2 separate regions of the Homo sapiens genome follow, and region 1 is linked to region 2. Evidence: promoter capture Hi-C in 16 types of primary human blood cells and fetal thymus (Javierre and others, 2016). All regions are on one chromosome and are shown on one strand. The core of a region is centred on a gene start or on the middle of the fragment in contact, and the rest is flanking DNA. Distances in the headings are between cores, read along the strand shown.

The links. Contacts are between HindIII fragments. The CHiCAGO score rates a contact against its expected background, and 5 or more counts as called.
Region 1: a contact is called between the fragment with the promoter of RUFY3 here and the fragment with the promoter of MOB1B in region 2, in 1 of 17 cell types (fetal thymus). The highest score is 5.7, in fetal thymus.

What each region holds. Positions count from the first base shown.
Region 1 is chr4:70,717,274-70,723,369 of GRCh38, reverse strand. It overlaps RUFY3 (RUN and FYVE domain containing 3), which reads right to left and starts at 1,406. Exons shown (of 18, transcript NM_001037442.4): 1 at 619-1,406. The coding sequence starts at 796. The HindIII fragment of the contact is 24,519 bases long and covers 917-6,096 here.
Region 2 is chr4:70,896,834-70,903,796 of GRCh38, reverse strand. MOB1B (MOB kinase activator 1B) reads right to left here and starts at 1,428. Exons shown (of 6, transcript NM_173468.4): 1 at 1,247-1,428. The coding sequence starts at 1,260. LOC124900711 (a long non-coding RNA gene) reads left to right here and starts at 1,566. Exons shown (of 2, transcript XR_007058132.1): 1 at 1,566-1,848; 2 at 4,080-4,577. RefSeq lists silencers at 1,099-1,148, 1,459-1,608. The HindIII fragment of the contact is 2,463 bases long and covers 1-1,927 here.

The sequences.
Region 1 (6,096 bases), core at 157-2,656, 180 kb after region 2:
ATTTAACCTTTCCAGGCATTATGCTTTCTTAGGAGTCCATATTCAATAAATAAATGCTGAAAAGTTATTTTCTCATCTAACCTAATAATCCATATTGTTAAAAAAATGTTTTATCAAACATTTCCTAGATGTCATAACTTGCTTAAAATTGTATCCTCATATAATGGTGAGGATACCATTACCAAATACCCTGGTGTTTCTACTGTATTCATCATGTACAATCCTATAATTATAGTCATGTTGTCTTAACTTAGTGTTATAAATCACTACAATTTCTATAACATTTTCATATATGAACAAAATTAATAGCTTTCTCATTATTGAATAGAATCAGATGTGATAAGTGACCTCAAATGTTTTATTTAGAGGCTTAAAGACAAAGAACTCTAAACGAGTATCCAGCATCTTTTGAAAGGATACCTAAAGGGGCAAGAAAAAAAATTATCTTTCCCCCATGAGCAAGAGAAGGGGAGCTGGGTGGTAAGTAAGGATGCAAGGTTTTCAGGACTGTTAACAGTTGAGAGTGTAGGTTCTTTCTACCTCTCCCTGATCCTCCCAGCCCTCCCCCATAACAATGAGGATGCTGGTGAAATACTAGCGGACAGGATCTGACCATACCTTCATGGGTAGGCTCTGGGTCAGGTGTAAGTGAGATGTCATCCAGCTCTCGCAGGCAGAGCCATTCTCCATCCATGGACACTCGGAATTTGCAAAGGTAGATGGTCTCCATGGCAGCCTGTGTGATCTTGTCAGTGGTGGGGGTTGGCATATCGGTCGGAGGCGTCAGAGCAGACATGATGACTCAGCTGGGACCACAACACACACACAGACACACACACACTCACACACACACACCAAAAAAATAAATACAACCTCCTCACCAAAAAAACCCAATACAAAGCTCTGAAACAAAGCTTTCAGGAAAAGGGTGGGGGAGGTTTAAAAAAAAAAAAAAGGAAAAATACCTTATAGGTTAAGAACAAACTGCTCAAGATAAACAATTCTACACTATCTTATAGACAGTTCCTACCACATAGCAAAATAAGATGATGCTTGTCTTCTCCCAGCTTCCTCTCCTTTTATCTTCCCTTCCCTGCCCCCCACCTTTTTTTTCAGCTGAGCTATAGGCTTTAAATCCCGCACAGCTGATGCTGCCTTAGCTGGCTTTAAAAATCTGGCCTCGATATGAGTAAGTGAAAAATCCTCCTCCTTTGTGCAGAAAAAAAATATAAAAGAAAAACCTGAACAAAAAATAAACCTATATTTTCAATGTAGCTTAAAAAAAAAATCCTGAGCTGCAGAAATCACTTCCAGGATCTGCTCAGATGAGCTGGGATGCTGAGTTCTCATAGGATTGGCCGTGCGCAGTAAGCAGGGTGTTGACCAAAATGGCTGACTAATGAACTGAACTGAAAATTCAGGCTCATGTGACCAGCTGCTCTGAACGTAGGGCAAGCAATTCCCAGGATGCTTTATAGATGCTGCTGATGCTGGGAGAGCAATTAGGCTTCTCTCTCTCATCCTGTACAACCCACTTCCAGACTGTGCTAGTCAAACTGTGATCAGACATAACACAATGCACATATCCTCATCAATTCTTCTTACTTTGGGATCAAGGACTGAATAAAAGGATGACAATTAATACCGGATAATAATCTATAGTAAAGATGGTAAAAGAGGCAGTTAGATTAATTTAACAAGCATATAATTCACCTCTTTCATTCTTATCTACATAGCTATTAAAATTCTTTACTATGCTAAATGTTATGTTTTAAGAAAAGCTAAAGCATAAAAAATTGAGGTTCTCAGAGGGAAAAAAAACAAAAAGATAAAAAGAAAAGCTAAAGTAGATTTTCAATTTAAATATCTTATTCTTGGGCATTTATAATTTCCTTCTCCAAGGTACAAAAACCTGACCTTTTAGGTTAGGCAGAAATGCAAAAAAAAAACTTCAAGTTAAAAAAGTAAAATCTTTCCCAATTAATGGCAATTTCCCCCCTTTTTGATTTTGTTGTATTTATCAAGTTTCTGTATTAAGCATAAAATACGTTTCTTTTTTTTTCTTTTTTCTTTTTTGAGACAGAGTCTTGCTCTGTAGCCCAGGCTGGAGTGCAGTGGCGTGATCTCAGCTCCCAGGTCCAAGCAATTCTCTGCCTCAGCCTCCCGAGTAGCTGGGATTACAGGCACCCACCACCACGCCCAGCTAATTTTTGTATTTTTAGTAGAGACGGGGTTTCACCATCTTGGCCAGGCTGGTCTTGAACTTCTGACCTCATGATCCTCCCACCTCAGCCTCCCAAAGTGCTGGGATTACAGGCGTGAGCCACCATGCCCAGCCTTAAGCATGAAATATGTTTCTAAGCAGATTAAACCATGTTATATTTTTAAAATCCTCCCATTCGATAAGATACTGAAGACAATTATATTTTCTTAATACACACACACACACACACACACACACACACACACACACACACACACGGCCCTATATTATCCAATGAGGCATTTATACCTTGGTAGCAAAAGGGCAGGTACTTGCTTTATGAACTACATAAATTACAAAGAGAAGAATAAGAATTTTCTTTGAAAATGTTTTGGACAATTGAAAGAAAGTGTTTGTTTGTTTTTGTATTGAAGGGTTCCAATTTTAAGGAGGAACATACAAATTCAAGAAATATGACCTGAGACTATTCCTTTCTAGGGATTGTTATCAGAGGGACATCTTGATTTACCTAATTTCTGAAAACTAAAAAAATTCTCCTTGAATATTGTTAAAATCTCAAATGCTTCATCATAATTTGAGACTGAACTGAAAGAAAAAAATGCTAATAATCAAATTCTGTAGAGAAACTGGCATTTTCATATTGTTACGAAGACAGGGCGGATGGCTGGGCGCGGTGGCTCATGCCTATAATACCAGCACTTTGGGAGGCCAAGGCGGGCAAATCACCTGAGGTCAGGAGTTCGAGACCAGCCTGGCCAACATGGTGAAACCTCATCTCTACTAAAAATACAAAAATTAGTCAGATGTGGTGGCATGTGCCTGTAATCCCAGCACTTTGGGAGGCTGAGGCAGGTGAATGGCTTGAGCTCAGGAGTTTGAAACCAGCCTGGGCAACATGGCAAAACTCCATCTCTACAAAAACAAAAATTAGCAAGGTATGGTTGCGCGCACATGTGGTCCTAGCTACTTGGGAGACTGAGGTGGAAGAATCACGTGAGGCCAGGAGGCAGAGGCTGCAGTGAGCCGAGATCATACCACTGCACTCTACCCTGTCTCAAAATAAAAAAAAGAAGGAGGGTATACTGGTACAATGTAAGAAGGCATATATATAGGCTTATTTATAATTGGGGAAAATCAGTAAGTTACTAAGGAAAGCAAAATACTCCTGGTTTTATTTCTATCTCATTCTCTCTCATCATTACCCTACATCTAGACTCAGAGCCATTCATTCATTCATTCATTCAACAGATATTCACTAAGAGGTGCTCCACATGCCAGGTAGTGATCCAGGCACTAGGCACGCAGCAGTAAGACAGAAACACCTTTTCCAGGAAACAGAATTTTCATATCCAAATACTGAACACAAGCCTTCATTTAACACATTCTCATTTAATTCAGTTCAATTCCTTTCTAGCCAAAAATATTCCCATATTATATATTAATAAGGGGACAGTTTATAGATTCACTTTATATCATGCAATACTTCAAAACATAGTAAGTAGTCATTAAAACCTTCAAATTACATGGGACATTCCTGGAACCACAACTCCAAACAGCCCTAGCTATCTGTATGTGTGATATCAAAACTCTAGATCACTGATATGTTCTTAAAACAGAACAAGGAATACATGAATAAATCCGAATGCCATGTGATTGTCTGGGGTCCAAAACCTGAATTTGGCCTTGTCACAAACCACAACAATCTCTTCACCCCAGTAAGCATTTACTAACTTGAACAGATCTAGATTGATTGCAACATACCAACACAACAGGAACATCAAGGTTAGTGAGCAAGAAACTTGATTAACATTCCTTCGGAAGATCCATCCCACCCTGCCTCTCTCCAGGTAGAGGACACAGAGAGGCAAGCCCAAAACAACTAAAGTTTTTGGCAAGGAAAGAAAAACATGCCTGTATTGGTATCCTTGAATTTCCCAGATCTACCAGTTTGAGGTGTTGGCAGCCATTTCAGAAATAAGACCCGGGGGTGGGCAAGAAAAACTGTACTTCTACGCTGTTCTTTAGGTAAACACCATTGAGTCTTCAGCACGAACAGTTATCCATTGTTCACAGGCAAAGAAGTTACTATGAAAACAGTGCTATTTGTAGAAACTTATAAAAACAATTCTACGGCCGGGCACGGTGGCTCATGCCTGTCATCCCAGTACTGTGGGAGGCTGAGGCAGGCGGGTCACCTGAAGTCGGGAGTTCAAGACCAGCCTGACCAACATGGAGAAACGCCATCTTTACTAAAAATACAAAATTAGCTGGGCGTGGTGGCACATGCCTGTAATCTGCTACTCTGGAGGCTGAGGCAGGAGAATCGCTTGAACCTGGGAGGCGGGGGTTGCAGTGAGGTGAGATTGCACCACTGCACTCCAGCCTGTGAAACTCCGTCTCAAAGAAAAAAAAAAAAGATTTTAGATATTGCTTAGTACCGTTTTTACATTTTGGTCTTTACTAAGTAAACATCTTAGCTTTGAATATGAAGTTAAAGTTAAGCCATCAGTAAGATATTCAAACCTTGATTTTTTTTCTCACATACAGAGTAATTACTGTATGAGCTGTATTGAACTATTTTCTCATTTGATCCCATTTGTGAGTAATGGCACCTATTTGTAAGATGGTTGTGAGGCGGGTGGGAGTTCAGTCTGTGGCCCTAAAAGAATAGGCCTGTGTGAAGTTCAAATCCAAAATGAAGATCCAAAAAATACTACGTTCTAGCTGCTTAAACAGTCTGTATTTTCCACATTATGATGGATTCAAAGCAAATAAGAGTCACACTTCAAAGTCAGAAGTTACATTCCTCTTAAAGGATATTTGTACTCGGCTGCTACTATAAGACAAAGGTTAACTTGACAGGCTCAATGTCTCTGTTATATATTGTGGAAAAATTACCTAAAATAGCTATCATTTATTAAATTTCTATTTTCTGTTAGGTGCTTTACAAATGCCATGTAAAGGGCTGGGTGCGGTGGCTCACGCCTGTAATCCCAGCACTTTGGGAGGCCGAGGCAGGTAGATCACGAGGTCAGGAGATTGAGACCATCCTGGCTAACACGGTGAAACCCCGTCTCTACTAAAAATACAAAAAAATTAGCTGGGCATGGTGGTGGGTGCCTGTAATCCCAGCTACTCAGGAGGCTGAGGCAGGAGAATGGCGTGAACCCGGGAGGCGGAGGTTGCAGTAAGCCAAGATCGCGCCACTGCACTCCAGCCTGGGCAACAGTGTAAGACTCTGTCTCAAAAAAAAAAAAAAAAAAAAAAAAAAATACCATGTCAAGTCTTCACAAAAGCACTGCAAAACAGAGATTGATACCTTCTCTTTATACACAATGAAACCAAAGTTCAGCCACGTAACTGGCCCAGAATCACACAATTAGCGAGTAGCAGATCTGTTACTCCAAGCTACTTCTGTCTAGATACCTCCAAAGTCCATGTTCCTTCTACACTCTGCAACTTCAGCACTCTATCCTAACTCTTCCTCATCCCCGGATGTTAAATTTTATTCAGAGAAAATAAAAAGACATTTAAAACACACACACACAAACACACACACACACACGCAAAGTCTCTTCATGAAATTTCCTAAAGATGAGTTTCAACAAATTTAAGATTTGAAGAAATTTTTTTTATCAGCCTCCATACTTTACACCTTAATGCTGCACAACCCATACCTTCCTCTAGGCCCCCCAACTTACATATTAAGTTCAGGCTTTTAGTAAGTGGGCACATTCTGACAAACTGAGAACCCAGTATGGACTTTTCTGTCATGGGCTCACAAAGGGTAGATAAAATGCTTCCACTATGTACTTGGTTCACCCTACTACCACTCTGTCTCTGAGTTCCCTCCACATTTACATACTAGTTGG
Region 2 (6,963 bases), core at 179-2,678:
AGTCTGCCCCTAGGTCAGCCTTGTTCAGTTTTGCTTAAACACCCTAAAAAAAAAAATTCTAGATGTGAGCATGTGAAAATAAGAGTGAATTAAATTCTCAGTATTCAGACGTCAATGTAATGACTAAAAATTATTAGGCAAGGAAAGAAGAGAAATCTTAAGAAAATATCCTTTAAATGCTAATTTCTCCACAACAGTAAAACAGTATATGGGTGAGTTTCAACTTCTAAGTTTTTTATTAGTTTTCTAAACACAGACTAAACATGGAATGAGTGCATCACAACGAAGCCTTCAAAGGAGTTATTCCTCAGGCTGTAACCCCTGTTTTCAGAGGACCTGAGGCTTATCTACTGCCTCCATATCCACATCTGGCCATCCCATCCTTCTGCCCTTCCCCCTCCACGTTCCCCTCCACTCGTCTGGAACAAACGATAAGTAAGTGAAATAATGACCAGCACTAAACATGACGCCAAAGTTGGCATTTACAAATGATTTTCAAAACAACTCCCCAGTGGACCTAATCAACCTAGGCAGGGCACACTATCCAAAACCTATTTGCTGGTTGTCTAAAAAGATAAAACTCATCCTCTTCAGGGAAGTCCTCTGGGAGGAAGGGCGCCTCTAGGAAGCAAGGGGGCGGCTCCAGACCCCTTTCTCAGGGACCCCCGTCTGTGTCCAAGGGATCCCGACCCGCAAGTAGCCTTGTTTCAGTGTTACATCTACAGAACTTGTCATCCCAACTTCCCAGCCCTAAGACGAGAGAGGAAGTTAAAAGGGTCCTGGGATGACAGGGGAAAGTACGACAGTCTTATCTTCTGTGCTTGGGACCCAGAAAAGAGCAATGGGCAGCCGCGACGGAGCCATTCAACCGAGCACCGCTTGGATACGGATTGTGCAGGCGAGTGGGAGATACCCACGAGAAGCGCACAAACAAGCCCGGGAATGCGAGCGAAGGCAGAGACGGGGGTGATGAAGGAATCCAGGCGCTGGCCCCGGGGTGTGCCGGGGGGGAAGAACCTCCTCAGGGCTGCAGGAGCCCACGAGTACTCGAAGCCCTATGGGGAGGCGGCGGTTAGGTAGTCCGAGCGCTCCGCGCAGTCCCGGGGCCCCGCTTGGTGGTGACGCCGGGCCCCGGGAGCGCTGGGCCAGGAGGGTCGGGACGAGGGCGGGCGACGGGCGGCGGGCGGCGGGCGGGGGCCCAGGTCCACCCGAACAAAGCCGGCGCGTGCGGGGCCTGGCTACTCACAACAAGAAGCTCATGTTGGCCGCGGGGCAGGCTGCAGGCTCGGCGGTCGCGAGGCCTCGGAGCGGCGTGGGCCAGGAAAGAAGAGGAAAGGCGAATGGAACAGGAGACAGGGAGGCGGAGGAGGAGGTGCCGAGAGCCGGCTGCTCGGTGGCCGCAACTAGTTCGGCTCAGCTAGTTCCAATGGCAGGGGGAGGGGGCGGAAGTGGGTAGCGCTCGTCTTGAATCACTCCAGGGGAGGGGAAGGAAAGGGAGGCGGGGCAGGCTCTCCGCGAGCCCCTCCCCAGCTCCCCGCCGCCCCCACCTCACGAGCTCTCGCGATAGCGGTGCAAGCCCACCCCGGCCCTCCGGCTGCGGCATGGGGACTCTCACCTTCTGGTCTCCTCTGCTGCTAGGGACGACGCCCAGCGTGTGCGCCGCGGCTGCCCGGCCCCCCTGTCCACCCGGTTAGGAGTCATGGCAGAGCTCTCGGAGCCGCTCAGCTGGGCTCCAGAGGTCAGGGAGGAAGTGGGCTTCAGCTCGGGGATGTCAAGGTCCCGCAGTGAGGGATGGAATTACCACCGGAGTTAGGCCCACCGTGAGTGTCCGGCCAAGGGCGGTGAAAGGTAATGGCATCTCTCAGTTCACCACGGAACCCAGCATGATAGGGTGGTCATCGGTGTAACCACTTAGGGGGCCAAAGCTTGTAAGCATTCTAATGCACAGAACATCCTAGAAGCTAGAAGCTATTCAGACCCACTTACAAAGGGACTTTTATTCTCACAGGGTTATGGGGCCCAGGGCAAGCCTTTATATTCTGTTTAAGAATCCTTCACATACCTTGAATATGTCACCACAGCATTACCAATTTAGGAGGGAAATACGGGTATCGAAGAGATGTCCGTCTTCTTTACTCACAACACCCATCAAATCTACAAGTTTTCAAAGAGAATCTGAGCAAAACAAATCATGTGCAGATATTAGCTCACCTTTGGCTTATCCCAAAGGGCAGAATACACTTTGAAGTAGGTGCAGATATGAAATGTATTATACTGCATATATGCACTATTATTTGGCACGTTGGTAAAGTGGTAAAAAAAAAAAAAAAAAAAAAAAAAAAAAAAAAAAAAAACGTTTTAGGCCGGGCGCAGTGGCTCATGCCTGTAATCCCAGCACTCTGGGAGGCCGAGGTGGGTGGATCACCTGAGGTCAGGAGTTCAAGACCAGCCAAAGTTCAAGACCATGGCCAAACCCCGTCTCTACTAAAAATACAAAAATTAGCCGGGCATGGTGGCACACACTTGTAATCCCAGCTACTCGGGAGGCTGAGGCAGGAGAATTGCTCCAACCCAGGAAGCAGAGGTTGCAGTGAGCCAAGATCATGCCACTACACTCCAGCCTGGGTGACAGAGTTAGACTCCGTCTCAAAAAAAAAATTTTTTAATAGAAGAAAATACTAGAATCTTGCACTATCTCAGGAACAGCAGAGGTTACTGGAATGAGAAAACTTACAGACTCAAAAGATTACCAGATCAGGATAAATAGCTAATGCATGCAGAGCTTAATACCTAGGTGATAAGTTGATAGGTTCAGCACACCACCATGGCACACACGTTTACCTATGTAACAAACCTGCACGTCCTGCACATGTATCCTGGAACTTCAAATTAAATTAAAAATTTTTTAAAAGATTCCCCAAAAAGAAGAAAGAGGAGGATTTATCTGAATGAAAATAATAGATTTATGGTATAAAACCCTGTGCTCCAAATATTGATATGGTACTGACTTACTGTATAATTCTTTTTTTTTTTTTTTTTTTTGAGACGGAGTCTCACTCTGTCACCCAGGCTGGAGTCCAGTGGTGCAACTTCTGGACTAGGCTCACTGCAACTTCTGCCTCCTGGGTTCAAACAATTCTGCCTCAGCCTCCTAAGTAGCTGGGATTACAGGCCTGTGCCACCACACCTGGCTAATTTTTGAATTTTTAGTAGAGACGGGGTTTTACTATGTTGGCCAGGCTGGTCTCAAACTCCTGACCTCGTGATCTGCCTGCCTTGGCCTCCCAATATGCTGGAATTACAGGCGTGAGCCACCACGCCCAGCCCTGTATGATTCTTGTAAGGGTCTTCTGAAAGTAAGACTTGCATTACCAGATTACTGATTATCTTTGGAAAGAGTGAGTTGACCTGTCATAGCCTCAGTTTTAGCCCATTTAAAATGGGAGCCTTCTATCATTACATGATCTCTAAAATATCTTCCAGTTCTAAAGTTCTCTCCTGCCAGGGGCATCCTTCAAATGACTGGCACACATTTCCAAACTGCTCCCTGATTTGGCTTAGGTAGCCTTAGTTTTGGTCTGACATAATTTAGATGTATCCTGTGACACTGAATAAGGGAAAACTGGCAGAGGAAAGAATCTGCAAAAATACCTTCTGAGTATTTCTTTATCATACCACTAGGAGAGTTGCCTGGAATTAACATCCAATAAAACGTAAATATACTGGTCCTAAATGTGAGGGAGGTGTCAGGTTAATAATATACAATATGATTCCAGGTTAGACTTTAAATCAAATGATGTCTGTCATATAAAATTATTCAGCATATCAAAAACATTGGGAATTTCAGAATCAAAGAGAGTTTATATTCAAATAGATATTTATAATTATCATCTCTTCTGACCAAAATCTAATAACCTTTTGTTTATGAAGCAAGATTATTAAAATTTTTGTTCTATCCAACTTTTCAAAGAATTGAAATTATACTGTAACATGTACAGAATAGAACAGAACATGAGTGGGCATATGCTCTTTAAATATTCATTTGAATAAAGACACATGCACATGTTTGTTTATTGCAGCACTATTTACCGTAGCGAAGACTTGGAACCAACCCAAATGCCCATCAACGAGAGACTGGATAAAGAAAATGTGGCACATATACACCATGGAATACTATGCAACCATAAAAAAGAATTAGTTCATGTCCTTTGCAGGGACATGGATGAAGCTGGAAACCATAATTCTTAGCAAACTAACACAGGAACAGAAAGCAAACACCACATGTTCTCACTCACAAGTGGGAGTTGAACAATGAGAACACATGGACGCAGGGAGGGGAACATCACACATCAGGGCCTGTCGGGGGGTGGGGGGCAAGGGGAAGGAAAGCATTAGGACAAACATCTAATGCATGTGGGGCTTAAAACTTAGATGACAGGTTGATAGGTGCAGCAAACCACCATGGGGGTTGATAGGTACAGCAAACCACCATGGCACATGTATACCTGTGTAACAAACCTGCACTTTCTGCACATGTATCCCAGAACTTAAAGTAAAATTAAAAAAAAAGAGGGAAATGTGTGTGTGTGTGTATGTATATGTATATATATTCATTTGAGGCCTGATGCCATGGCTCACACCTATAATCCCAGCACTTTGGGAGGCCGAGATCGGAGGATTACTTGAAAGCAGGAGTTTGAGATCAGCCTAGTCAACATAGTAAAACCCCCCATCTCTATGAAAAAATAAAAAAAAAAGAATAAATATATTCTAAGTGTATTTTGGCATGCTACACAATCACACTTAACAAAGCTAACAATTCAACCTGACCCTTATCAGTGCTCCTTAGATTTTAATTCTATTTCTTGCTTCATTAAAGACTAGCCAATGTACAATTTTAAGTGCTTCTCAAGGACAGATTAATTTGAATAATAGAATAGAATGGCACACACTTGTAATCCCAGCACTTTAGGAGGCAGAGGCGGGCGGATCTCTTGAGGTCAGGAGTTGGAGACCAGCCTGGCCAACATGGTAAAACCCCATCTCTACTAAAAGTACAAAAGTAGCCAGGCGTGGTGGCACGCCCTGTAATCCCAACTATTCAGGAATTTGAGGCACAAGAATCTCTTGAACCCGGGAGGCAGAGGTTGCAGTGAGCCAAGGTCACGCCAATGCACTCCAGCCTGGGTGACAGAGTAAGACCCTGTCTCAAAAAAAAAAAAAAAAGAAAGAAAAGAAAAAAAGAATGGAGGGCCCAGGCACAGTGGCTCATGCCTGTAATCCCAGCACTTTGGGAGGCTGAGGCAGGCAGATCACCTGAGGTCAGGAGTTTGAGACCAGCCTAGCCAACATGGCAAAACCCCATATCTGCTGAAAATACAAAAATTAGCCCTGCGTGGTGGTGGGTGCCTGTAATCCCAGCTACTCGGGAGGCTGATTCGGGAGAATCACTTGATCCTGGGAGACGGAGGAAGAAGTGAGCCAAGATTGCGCCACTGCACTCCAGCCTGGGCGACAGAGCGAGACTCAGGCTCCAAAAAAAAAAAAACAAAACAAAAAAAGAAAGGAATGGAGACATGAAAGACTGATGAAGCTTGATGTCTTTCAGTGCATTTATTTATTGCTAAAACCCACAAAGCATCAAAACACAGAGCCTGCCGGGCGCAGTGGCTCACACCTGTAATCCCAGCACTTTGGGAGGCCAAGGCGGGCGGATCACCTGAGGTCGGGAGTTCAAGACCAGCCTGACCAACATGGAGAAACGCCGTCTCTACTAAAAATACAAAAAAATCAGCCAGGTGTGGTGGTGCATGCCTGTAATCCCAGCTACTCAGGACGCTGAGGCAGGAGAATCGCTTGAACCCAGGAGGCAGAGGTTGTGGTGAGCCAAGATTGTGTCATTGCACTCCAGCCCGGGCAACAAGAGTGAAACTCCGTCTCAAACAAACAAACAAAAACAACAACAAAAAAACAAACACAGAGCTTATTATTTAATGTTTAAAATGGAAGAAGGAATGTTTTATTGACCACAAACCTAACCCAGTACCCTCCCCTTCAAGCTCGTTACTCTTTTGAATATGAGGTTTATGCAATAGGATGGCTAGATTTTGGGTTATAATCATTTATCTACTCAACAAGAATTCATTGAGTGTCTACTATGGGCCTCTGAGAGTTAAAAAAAAAAAAAAAAGGCCCTAGTGTTTACCATCTGAATCCTATAGGTCATTGGGAAATACAAGTAATCAAATAAAAGCAAAGTTAGAAAATGTGTAAATGTCATGAAAGAAAGGGCCTTGTTGTATATGAAGTCTTTTTTATTTTTTCAAGCAGAGTCTCACTCACTCTGTCACCCAGGCTGGAGTGCAGTGGCACGATCTCGGCTCACTGCAACCTCCACCTCCAGGTTCAAGTGATTCTCCTGCCTCAGCCTCCCGAGTAGCTGGGATTACAGGTATGCATGACCACACCTGGTTAATTTTTGTATTTTTTAGTAGAGACGGAGTTTCACCATGTTGCCCAGGCTGGTCTTGAACTCCTGACCTCAAGTGATCTGCCTGCCTCAGCCTCCCAAAGTGTTGGGATTACAGGTGTTAGCCACTGCACCTGGCCTGTATATGAGTATATATTAAAGGGATCTTACCTATTTTGGTGGTCAGAGAACTGGATCTTGTCTATTCAGAAGTGAGTAGCATGTATATACTCCTTGTATTGTATTTAAATTCTGGTTACATTTATAAACAGCATAATTTGATAAAACAACTTTCCTAATCATCATGCCAACTCCCTTTTGGTGTTTGGAAGCACCACAACATAAAAATTGATTTTTGTTTTCAAAAAGCCAGTCTTTCAAAACTTTTTAGAAAGTACTACTTTGTGTATAATTTTGAGGATCTTAGTCCATAGGACAAAAATTATGAAAGATTCACTGGCCAGGTACAGTGGCTCACGCATCCCAGCATTTTA